4 separate regions of the Homo sapiens genome follow, and all the other regions are linked to region 4. The links are contacts of gene promoters, found by promoter capture Hi-C in blood cells and fetal thymus (Javierre and others, 2016). All regions are on one chromosome and are shown on one strand. Each heading gives the region's core, a stretch centred on a gene start or on the middle of the fragment in contact. The rest is flanking DNA. Distances are from core to core; before and after follow the strand shown.

Region 1 (2,700 bases), core at 113-2,612, 210 kb after region 4:
AAAGTTACAAGGGCCCCCAAAATGAGACAGCAAACCACTTCCTTCTGAAAACTAAAGGTCATAGGCTTTTAAGGAACAATAGAGCTCAATGTAAGCTTCAGAAAGATGGAGACAGTCAGATGAGACGAGGGTAGGGAAGCGCGGGTGAGGAGATGCGCCCCGTCTGGGATAGCTGAATAGGGGGGTCAAGGCCAGGGACTTTAGGAACACGAGAAGGGCTGGATCTTCCATAACCTGCCCAAGTGGGCCTGAGAAACCTAAGAGGCTCCTCTGAAAATCTAGGGCATCTATGCATCCAATACTCTCAGCCCTCTCCTCGGGAAGGGAGATAATCCCCACAGGAAGCACCCCCCAAACTGGGGCTTTTCCTGCCCTTCAAAAGCCACAAACCCTCACGGAAAACATTTACAAGGGAGTGGAAGGGCCGGGGGCAAGCAGCGGTTCTGCAAATCTCGGGAAGAAGGCCCCTGGATCCAAGGAACTTTGCCCCTGGAATAGGGGGTGGGGTGCGGAGGGCACCGTCTGAGGCTGGTAAGCCTCGGCGAAAGAAGCGGCGGGAACGGGAGTAGGGTCCCGTGGGTCCCCCGACGAGGGGGTGGCGGCCTGGGGCGCGGTCGCCGGTGAGGGAGGCCCGCGAGCCGGGCACGGGAGCGGGGGGCTGCGGCCCCGTGGCTGCAAAGAGCCGGCACTCGGGAGGCAGAGGCCGGCGTAGGCCTCGGGGGCCCGGACACACCCAACGCGGCGGCCTCGGGCCCGCTTACCTGCTCCTCCTCCGGGGTCAGCTCCGGCGCCATGTCGGGCCGGGGCGCGGTCGCGGGCTCCATCCCCCCGCCACCGCCGCCGGGCGGACAAAACTCGCTCGCGAGCGCGGGAGCCCGGCGCGCTCGGCCTCCGCTTCCGCGTCCCCGCGCCTCAGCAGCCCGGGGCCGGCTCGCGCATAGTGTGGCCGGCAGGGCCCGGCGCCTGCAGCGGCCGCAAACGCCGCTTCTGCTTCCTTAAGAAAAATCTCTCCGAACTGCCGCTCTCTTCCGGGAGGAAATCCTTTTTTATATTATTCGCTCCGTTCCTCACACTCCCCCTTATCTCCTGGGGAAGAAAAAGTGCAGGCGAAGAGCTAACAGCCACTCGGGATTTAAAAGGAAATAGGAAATCAGGAACTTTTAGAGCCGGGAGCGAAGGGTCGGCGGAAATTTCCCGAAGGCCGCCGACCCCCTCGGCGCCCCGCTTCCTCGGCCGCGCTCCCGCTCCTCCACAGCGCCACAGAGCTCGGGGCCGCCCAGCCGGGCCGTCCTCGCGGACGCTGGCCCTGCGACCTGCGCGGCTGCCTCAGCCAGGCTCCTCGCGGGCGGCCGCAGCGAAAGGGAGGGAGTGGAGAGGGAGCGAGGGAAACGCGCCCCCCTCCTGACTCACGGCCAACGCTGCGGCCGCCCCGCGGCCGCCCGAGCCCCCCGCGGCTCCATTGAGAAACTGAGCGTCTCATTCACAAGCTGGCGGCGAGGAGGGCCCGGCGGAGCGAGGACGCAGTCCGGGAGGGGGAGACAGAGAGGAGCCCGGGCGGGGGAGGGGACCGGGAGGGGGAGGGGACCCGGGCGGGGAGGGGACCCTAGCTGGACGGAAGGCAACTCGACTGCGGGAGGGAGAAAAAGGAAGAAAAGAGTATTTCGTGAGGCTCAGATCCTCGGAGGAGGAGGAGAATACGTTCGTTTGCAAATTATCTGCTGACTGGCACCTCTCCTGGGGTTAACTTGCCGCTGCCACCTACGCGTGAGAAACCCACAATCCTCAACTATTTGTCGCTTGCAGCCTGAAAGACCCTGGAAAGGTTGCCTGCCAGGCCAGGATGCTTAGGTGGAAGGAATCGCACCTGCCTCCCTCTCTCTCCCTCCTTACTGGCTGCACCCTGTAATTCATCTCCAGTGTCGCTAATTTTAATCCCCCATAGAAACGACATCAGACTCCGAACATCATTCAGGAATGACGCGGCCTTTGCAGACCTTTGATTTTCACTAGGGCAAGTGCAGCAAAGGGTTCAGGATTAGGGGTACAGTCTTGGAGTCATTTGGGGAGGAATGGGGCATAGAGAAGGCAAGGCTGGGTCTGGTACGTTGTTGCATTATTCCAAGCCAAAGATAAATATTCCAAAGGGACCCAAAGTCCACAACTAGTTCCAAGGCTGAAGCCCTGGAGCCAGTCCTGAGGGACCCAAAGGAGGGGCCTTCAGACAACAGGAAGGTGCTGTGAGTTGTGATGCTCCTATGATTTTTTTTTTATTTTTTTTTTTGAGACGGAGTCTCTGTGTCGCCCAGGCTGGAGTGCAGTGGCGCGATCTCGGCTCACTGCAACCTCCACCTCCCGGGGTCAAGCGATTCTCCTGCCTCAGCCTCCTGGGTAGCTGGGATTACAGGTGCGAGCCACCACGCCCGGCTAATTTTTGTATTTTTAGTAGAGACGGGGTTTCACCATGTTGGTCAGGCTGGTCTCGAACTCCTGACCTTGTGATCCGCCCGCCTCGGTCTTCCAAAGTGCTGGGATTACAGGCAGGCGTGAGCCACCGCGCGCCTGGCTTTTTTGTTTTTCTTTTTTTGAGACGGAGTCTCACTCTGTCACCCAGGCTGGAGTGCAGTGGCGCGATCTCGGCTCACTGCAAGCTCCCCCTCCCAGGTTCACGCCATTCTCCTGCCTCAGGCTCCCAAGTAGCTG
Region 2 (2,751 bases), core at 164-2,663, 230 kb after region 4:
GCCTAGAGAAGGTAGCTGCAGGTTCTGAGGCTGACAAGACTGTTGAGGACTGGGGAGCCTCTGGGGCTGTGAGGTTTGTTTTTTGTTTTTTTTTTTTGAGACAGAGTCTTGTGCTGTTGCCCAGGCTGGAGTGCAGTGGCTCAATCTCGGCTCACTGCAACCTCTGCCTCCCAAGTTCAAGTGATTCTCCTGCCTCAGCCTCCCGAGTAGCTGGGATTACAGGCATCTGCCAATACGCCCAGCTAATTTTTGTATTTTTAGTAGAAACGAGGTTTTGCCATGTTGGCCAGGCTGGTCTTGAACTCCTGACCTCAAGTGATCCACCGGCCTCGGCCTTCCCAAGTGCTGGGATTATAGGCGTGAGCCACCATGCCCAGCCGCTGTGAGACTTTCAGTGCTAAAACAGGGCGAGTCCTGAGCAAACTGGAATGAGGTGGTCACCTGACTCATGCTCCTGCTCAGCAAGTGCTGCTGTCCCCAAGGGCCATCTTCTTTGGTGAGGAAAGGATTAGGGATTTGGACATTTGTTGGAGTCATTCAGTCACAGAAGCACCTTCACTTTACAAGCAGCCACGACAGCCAAACCAGGGACCTGGGTCTCAGCTTGCAGTAGGAAGAGGCACACAAGAAGGATCTAGGCATGCAAGTCTTGCTCCTATCTGGGCCTCAGTTTCTCCGGACCTCAGTTTCTCCATCTGTAAGATGAGGGAGTTGGACGAGCTGTCCATTAAGGGCCCTTCCAGTGCCAGCATTCTGACTTATCCAGCATGGGTGGAGCTCAGGCTCTGAAGGGCAGCAAGTACATCCTTTCTCCAGAATCAGCTTTGTCCCATTCTGATGCTTTGACACAGCACAATCAAGGAATATTTTAAGACTTTGTGTAACTAAGTCTCTCTGCAGCCTATCATCATGTCAAGGCAATAAAGACAATGGTTTCGTTACCTCAAAAGGGAAATCCATAGATAGCACATCACACAGGCTTTCGGGAGTGCAAGGGAAGTTCTTTAGCCCCACAAATTTAAACTGAAATAGAAATTAGAACAAGGAATTAGTACGTTATAAATGATACTGGCCCAAGCAATTGAAAATCTCTGTCAGGCCAGGCATAGTGGCTCACACCTGTAATCCCAGCACTTTGGGAGGCAAAGTCAGGAGGATCACCTGAGGTCAAGAAATCAAGACAAGCCTGGCCAACATGGTGAAACCCCGTCTGTACTAAAAATACAAAAATTAGCCAGGCATAGTGGCATGTGCCTGTAGTCCAAGCTACTTGGGAGGTTGAGGGAGGAAAATAGCTTGAACCCAGGAAGGGGAGGTTGCAGTGAGCCATGATCATGCCACTGCACTCCAGACTGGGTGACAGAGCAAGACTCCCTCTCAAAAAAAGCAAAAAGAAAAGAAAATCTCTGTCAAAGAAGAAAAACTTGTAGTCCCAGCTACTTGGGAGGCTGCTGAGGTAGAAGGATCGCTTGAGCCTGAGGTCAAGGCTGCAGTAAGCTCAGATTGTGCCACTGCACCCCAGCCTGAGTGACAGAGCCAGACCCTGTCTCAAAAACCAAACCAAACCAAACTAAACCAAGCCAAAACAAAAAAACAAAGAAGAAAAGTTTTCAGTCTCATCCTTCTCTACTAATTCCCCTCTACTTACTCTCTTAACTACTAGGTCGTGGTTCCCAATCTTTCCTCCCCCTTTTTTTTAAGAGATGAGATCTCATTCTGTCACCCATGCTAGAGAGCAGTGGCACAATCACAGCTCACTGCATCCTCAAATTCCTGGGCTCAAGGGATTCTCCCACCTCAGTTTCCCAGTATGCTGGGATTATAGGCATGAGCCACTGTACCCAGCCCCAACCTTCTTTTATCCACAAGAATCATCTAGGGAGCTTTTAAAAATTACTGATACTCAGGAGGCTGAAGCAGGAAAATGACATGAACCCGGGAGGCGGAGCTTGCAGTGGGCCGAGATTGTGCCACTGCACTCCAACCTGGGTGACAGAGCGAGACTCCGTCTCTAAAAATAAAAAATAAATAAAAATAAATTACTGATGCTGGCCAGGTGTGGTGGCTCACGCCTGTAATCCCAGCACTTTGGGAGGCCGAGAAGGGCGGATCACGAGGTCAGGAGTTCGAGACCAGTCTGACCAATATGGCGAAACCCCGTCTCTACTAAAAATACAAAAATTAGCCAGGCATGGTGGTACATGCCAGTAGTCCCAGCTACTTGGGAGGCTGAGGCAGAAGAATCGCTTGAACCTGGGAGGCGGAGGTTGCAGTGAGCTGAGATTGTGCCACTGCACTCTAGCCTGAGCAACAGAGCAAGACTCGGTCTCAAAAAAAAAAAAAAAAATATTACTGATGCACAGGCCCTACTCTGAGATTCTGACTGAACTGGTCTGGGGTGGGATCCAGGTTTTTTGTTGTTTTTTTTGAGACAGAGTTGCGCTCTTTCACCCAGGCTGGAGTGCAGTGGCACAATCACAGCTCACTGCAGCCTCAACCTCTTGGGCTCAAGTGATCCTCCCACCTCAGCCTCTCAAGTAGCTGGAACTATAGGTGCACGCCACCATGCCTAATCTGTTTTTGTATTTTTTTGTAGAGATGGGGTTCTGCTGTGTTGCCCAGGCTGGTCTCAAACTCCTGGGCTCAAACAATCCACCTACCTCAGCCTCCCAAAGTGATGGGATTATAGGCACACATCACCATACCTGGCTAATTTTTTTGTTTGTATTTCTTTTGTAGAGATGGGGTTTT
Region 3 (2,712 bases), core at 103-2,602, 140 kb after region 4:
CACTGCACTCCAGCCTGGGAGACAGAGCGAGACTCCGTCTCAAAAAAGGTGGCTCACGCTTGTAATCCCAGCACTTTGGGAGGCTGAGGTGGGCGGATCATGAGGTCAGGAGTTCGAGACCAGCCTGGCCAATATGGTGAAACACCGTCTCTACTAAAAATACAAAAATTAGCTGGGTGTGGTAGCGTGCGCCTGTACTCCCAGCTACTCAGGAGGCTGAGGCAGAAGAATCGCTTGAACTCAGGAGGCGGGGCTGCAGTGAGCCAAGATCGTGCCACTGCACTCCAGCCTAGGCAACAGAGTGAGACACTCTCAAAAAAAAAAAAAAAAAAAAAAAAAGAAAAGCTCTCTCCTACTCTGCGTCATTAGGTCTCTAAGCAGCTTCCACAGAACCAAATGTTTTCACTTTCATGTCCTGTCTTTTAATTGCTGCAATCAGTAACTGAGACCATAAATCTTTTAATCATGGAACACGCAGGAGATTATAACAGAATTAAAGTTTCTGGTTTTATTGTGGCGGCGGGGTCTCACTGTGTTGCCTAGGCTGGTCTCAAACTCCTGGCCTCAAGCGATCTTCCCGCCTTGGCCTCGGACTCCCAAAGTGTTAGTATTATAAGCATGAGCCATTACACTTGGCCCAGAATTAAAGTAATTTTGAACGCTTTTGAAATTGGGAAGCAACAAGGTATTCTGAGAAAAAAAAATGCCAGGAATAAATGTAGAAAGAGACATAACGAAAAACTTTCCTCCACAACCCTGGTGGTCAAGGGATTGAATGATGTTTCCAGTTGAACAAATTCTAATGCCAGTTCAACTAATGCAGTTATATTACAAGCTGTTAAATATTAAAGGCCTATGCAGCACTAGGATAAATTTTGGAAGTAGCAGCTATCCCTAAGTTACCTCCAGGACACGTTCCTTCAGTACTATCTTATGCAAGGTGCTATAGAAAGTGAGAACCAGATAAACTGTGTTTAGTTTTGAACTTCAAGAAGCTCGTAGGACAGTAAGAGAGGCAGTCTGTATTGAACTGACTAATGCATCAGGTAGAGAATATAAGTGAATGCACTAACAGAAGCAGAACAGGCTCTAGAAGACACGCCAGGAGGATTTTTTGAAGGTAGAAAATTAATTGGCAGGAATTCACTGTATCTATTCACCTCCAGATAAAAAAGGGCAAGCTTGCCTTACCCTCTCCCGGACTTTGTCCTTCAGGAGGAGACTGATGATGGAATAGGGCACTCGGAACCATATGGGTGCCCCCACAATCAGCACCTTCTTCAAACGAGCTGGAAATGCTCCCTGTGGAGAAAACACATGAGGATTTAAGTGTAATGGAACCTGTGACTCTTCAAGCCCAAGTTTAGGTTTTCTGCTCTTCTCCCCATTCTTACCCAGCAGGGGGAGTCTACAGCCTAATTCAGGTTTGATCTCAGCAGCTAGAGGAAAAGTGGTTAAACAAACTGAAGAAATTAGAAGCTGATTTACCTTTAAAAATAACAATGTTAAGTTCTTGTCTACCGTAAGCTTTATGGATCAAAAACTATTCTGACTTCTCATCTCAACAGATATCCTACACATACCACACATCAGCATACATATATGCCTCTTAAAAAAGTTATGTTATTAAAACTTGAAGGAAAAATGAGATCATGAATAAACTGAACATTAAACATTTCTCGACCAGGTGCGGTGGCTCATGCCTATAATCCCAGCATTATGGGAGGCCGAGGTGGGTGGATCACCAGAGGTTGGGAGTTCAAGACCAGCCTGGCCAACATGGTAAAACCCATCACTACTAAAAATACAAAATTAGCCAGGCACGGTGGCAGACACCTGTAATCCCAACTACTCAGAAGGCTGAGGTAGGAGAATCACTTGAACCCAGGAAGCAGAGGCTGCAGTGAGTTGAGATCAAGCCATTGCACTTTACCCTGGGCAACAAGAGTGAAACTCTGTCTCAAAAAAAATAATATGGCTGGGCACAGTGGCTCACGCCTGTAATCCCAGCACTTCTGGAAGCTGAGGCGGGCAGATCACTTGATGTCAGGAGTTTGAGACCAGCCTGGCCAACATGGTGAAACCCCATCTCTACTAAAAATACAAAGATTAGCCGGGCATGGTGGCATGTGCCTGTAATCCCTGCTACTCGGGAGGCTAAGGCAGGAGAATCGCTTGAACCCAGGAAGTGGAGGTTGCAGTAAGCCAAGATCGCACCACTGCACTCCAGCCTGGGCGACAAGAGCGAAACTCCATCTCAAAATTTTAACAATAATAAATAAAAATTTAAAAATTTTAAAAATTTCTCTTTCATAACTTTTCATTCAGTCTGATGTATGCATAATCTTTTTTTAATCTATTCATTCATCTATGTATTTACCAATCAATAATCTAATGTGCACTATGGCAAATGAGATCTAAAAAAAGGAGATATCCTCATCCACACAAGATATAAAGATGAAAAAATCATTCATTCCTAATCCACAGTGCTTAGTTTTTTTGTTTGCTTGGCTGCTCTGTTTTTGTTTTGTATTGTTTTTGAGACAGGATCTTGCTGTTGCCCAGGCTGGAGTGCAGTGGCACAATCGCCACTCACTGAGTCCTGTACCTCCCAGGCTCAAATGATCCTCCCACCTCAGGCTCCCAAGTAACTGGGACTGCGCCACTACACTTGGCTAATTTTTGTATTTTTAGTAGAGACAGGGTTTCACC
Region 4 (2,700 bases), core at 3-2,502:
ATGCCCAAGTGGCAACTTCCCTAGTCCTGAAATCCTGATACCACCCTGTGGGCAGAGCAACTCAGCTGTGGCTTCTCCAGAGTCCACAGAAGAAGGGCTGTAGTCATTTCAGGGCTGAAATGTGGCCATACCTGGCCCTAGGACAGGGTTCCTCACCTGGACAGGTTCTCCATCACGCCACACCAGACCTTCTCCATCACTTTCCCAGCAAAGGTGAACTTCCTGGCCCACCCATGCCTCTGGGATGGTCAGCTCCACCCGGAACCAGCAGGTCCACCATCTGCAAGAGAGCTGTTGTGATAGGCCTAGAGGTAGAAGTCCTATCCTGATATCCTTCCTTGGATAAAGTGTCGGCAGGGGCTTGAAACTCTCCAAGCATCTGCAGTGTCACAAGGTACTCAGCTTTGAGTCACAAGAAAGGAGCAACAAGGTGAGAAGCAAGATGAGGGAAACAGGCAGAGGCGTCAAAGGTTCGTGATCCCTAGGGTGCCCTTCCTAAGGGATGTCCAGAGGCGGCCACGTGGGAATGAAAACCATCCCCTGAAGACCCAGGGACCAGAGAGCTGTTCCCAGCAGAGGGTGCTGCTCCCAGCAGAGGGTGCTGCTCGATCCCACGTAGTTGTCTACGGCAGAGGGCAGACAACGAAGGTGTGGCTGGGAGCTGGGTTGGGACTTCCCCTAGGCCTGTGGCCCCGCCCACCCGCTGGGCGTTACCTACGTGGGTCCGAAGCTGTCGCCGACCTGCGCGGGGCGGAAGTCCCGCTGGACTGCCTCCTGGTAGGGAAGTCTCTCCGGCGTCAGGAAGCTGGAGAGCACAGCCACAGGGCAGCTGGCCCCAAAAAGCCTGCGTGGGACGGGCCGGTGGGCACATGCTGGAGGCCGCCCCGTTTCCGCCTGGGGGCCAGCTGGCCGGTGGGGCCGCACTTTCCCTGGATCCTCCGCCAAGAGGGCTGCCTGGCCGCTCCGCGGCACAGTCCATTCCCTACCCCCTCCTCCCCGGCCCCTGCCCTGCCCGCGGCGGGCACTTTGTCCCGCGGCCCGGGTGGCTGCAGCTTAGGTTTCTCCCCGGAAGGAAAGCTTGAGGCGCACGGTTGCGGTCGGCCGGCTGCGGGGGACCAGGGGCCACACCTGCCGCGGAGGTTACAGTCGGTAAAGTAGAGCGGCGACACGAACTTCTCCACCCGCTCCAGCGTGGTGCGCCAGTGCTTCAAGGCCGGCGCAGCCGCCATCGCCGGGCTCTCGCTCCTCTTTCCGGAAGGCCCCTGGCGCTACCGTTCCGCTCCACGGCAGGAAACCAAAGGTTCCGGCGTCCAGAGGGCGCCTCCCAGTCCCGGGCAGCTTTTCTTGGAACACCGGCGGCTCTCGGAAGCCCAGCTGCTGTCTGAACTTTGAGCCGAGTTGGAAGCTAGAAACTGTTTTTGAGGCTCTCCTATGTTGTCCGAAATAGTGGGCCGCAGGGAAAATCTCAAAATAAAATGGGAAATTTGACGATTAGAACTCTCGAAAGTCTCAAGACAGAGACTTAGGCCATTCGGCAAGACAGGCGGGAGCCTCAGCTGCTGCAGACCCAGCCTCAGAAGCAGCAACCGGGAGACCTCTGGCTCTAGCTGTCGGTGAACACGGAAAGTGGTGTTTGCTTAACGTGGAGCCAGACTACCCGGAATAGGTGTTTTCATACCGGACGGAGATCAGGGTGTTAGTGAGCAGGGTGGTAGAGCTTTACGCCCAAGTTACTACGACTTACTCGATTACACGCTTTACTGAATGTATATTGCTAACTCTTGCACATCACCAGAAACTCTGGAGTTTGAGGTGGCAGAACAGTCATGGCATTGACGATCCCAATGGAAAAATGTATTTCACCATACAGGACTGTAGAGTCCCGGGAAGCCATAATACCAGAAACAGACCTCCAGTTTCATTCTCATCCCTAGTACTCCACTGACAGCTTTATTTTTTTTCTCCTGGGGTTGCCAAGAGTCTTTGTCTATAAAATCATTAGGAACAAAAAAAAATACACAAGATTAGCCCTGATATTTTAATGGAAATACTGACCAAGTTTACAACATTTCAAATGCAGATCACACGGAAAGGTGACTAAGTACAGAATAACAAATGTGATTTAAAACAAAGATAACCTGCTGCTGCATATAATACAGGTTGGGTTTAGAGCTTGGAGCTCAGATGTCAGACAGCAGGAGGAATAAAAATGCTACTTGTGAAAACCCAGGCTGTAGGTAAAACTTACTCTTTTGTTGGTTGCACTGGTGGGTTGGGACTTTCTCCTGAACTGGCCTTGAAATCCTATCCTGACCTGCAGGCAAGTGCTCTGGACAAAACACTGCAGGGGCAGCAACAGCTGGGGCTGACCCTGATCACACCCCACCAATTTCCCCTATGGTTCCAGGTCAACATGACCTTTCTTGAGGGAACACGGGGATAGGTGAATTATTTGAGAAAACCTCAAGATCTTTCCCCTAAATCAGTACACATGACCACCGCCAAGTCAGACACTGCCCCAGCTTTGCCCTAAAATCTCATCCCACAAAGCTCTTTTTGGCACCCTACACTTTGGCTCACAGTCTCTTCTCCCCAGTACAAAAAAAGCCTAAAATCAGGCCAGGGTGGCTCACACCTGTAATCTCAGCACTTTGCGAGGCCGAGGTGGGAGGACAGCTTGAGGCCAGGAGTTTGAGACCA

The links. Contacts are between HindIII fragments. The CHiCAGO score rates a contact against its expected background, and 5 or more counts as called.
Region 1: a contact is called between the fragment with the promoter of PTPN9 here and the fragment with the promoter of MAN2C1 in region 4, in 5 of 17 cell types (endothelial precursors, erythroblasts, activated CD4 T cells and 2 more). The highest score is 8.3, in endothelial precursors.
Region 2: a fragment that was not itself captured here is called in contact with the fragment with the promoter of MAN2C1 in region 4 in 8 of 17 cell types (naive CD4 T cells, naive CD8 T cells, activated CD4 T cells and 5 more); the score reaches 8.0 in naive CD4 T cells.
Region 3: a contact is called between a fragment that was not itself captured here and the fragment with the promoter of MAN2C1 in region 4, in 1 of 17 cell types (naive CD4 T cells). The highest score is 5.6, in naive CD4 T cells.

The regions. Positions count from the first base shown.
Region 1 is chr15:75,577,953-75,580,652 of GRCh38, forward strand. PTPN9 (protein tyrosine phosphatase non-receptor type 9) reads right to left here and starts at 1,363. Exons shown (of 13, transcript NM_002833.4): 1 at 762-1,363. The coding sequence starts at 824. RefSeq lists silencers at 571-970, 1,231-1,720 and an enhancer at 930-1,528. The HindIII fragment of the contact is 12,332 bases long and covers 94-2,700 here.
Region 2 is chr15:75,600,196-75,602,946 of GRCh38, forward strand. SNUPN (snurportin 1) reads right to left here. Exons shown (of 9, transcript NM_005701.4): 8 at 943-1,023. Among named protein-coding and RNA genes, the nearest start is that of PTPN9, 22 kb to the left of the region's middle. The HindIII fragment of the contact is 7,095 bases long and covers 1-2,751 here.
Region 3 is chr15:75,507,726-75,510,437 of GRCh38, forward strand. PTPN9 (protein tyrosine phosphatase non-receptor type 9) reads right to left here. Exons shown (of 13, transcript NM_002833.4): 6 at 1,192-1,302. Among named protein-coding and RNA genes, the nearest start is that of SIN3A, 57 kb to the left of the region's middle. The HindIII fragment of the contact is 346 bases long and covers 1,180-1,525 here.
Region 4 is chr15:75,367,355-75,370,054 of GRCh38, forward strand. It overlaps MAN2C1 (mannosidase alpha class 2C member 1), which reads right to left and starts at 1,253. Exons shown (of 26, transcript NM_006715.4): 1 at 1,129-1,253; 2 at 719-844; 3 at 157-280. The coding sequence starts at 1,229. It overlaps SIN3A (SIN3 transcription regulator family member A), which reads right to left. Exons shown (of 21, transcript NM_001145358.2): 21 at 2,025-2,700. RefSeq lists a silencer at 920-999 and enhancers at 1,026-1,558, 1,130-1,449, 1,134-1,428. The HindIII fragment of the contact is 2,518 bases long and covers 1,076-2,700 here.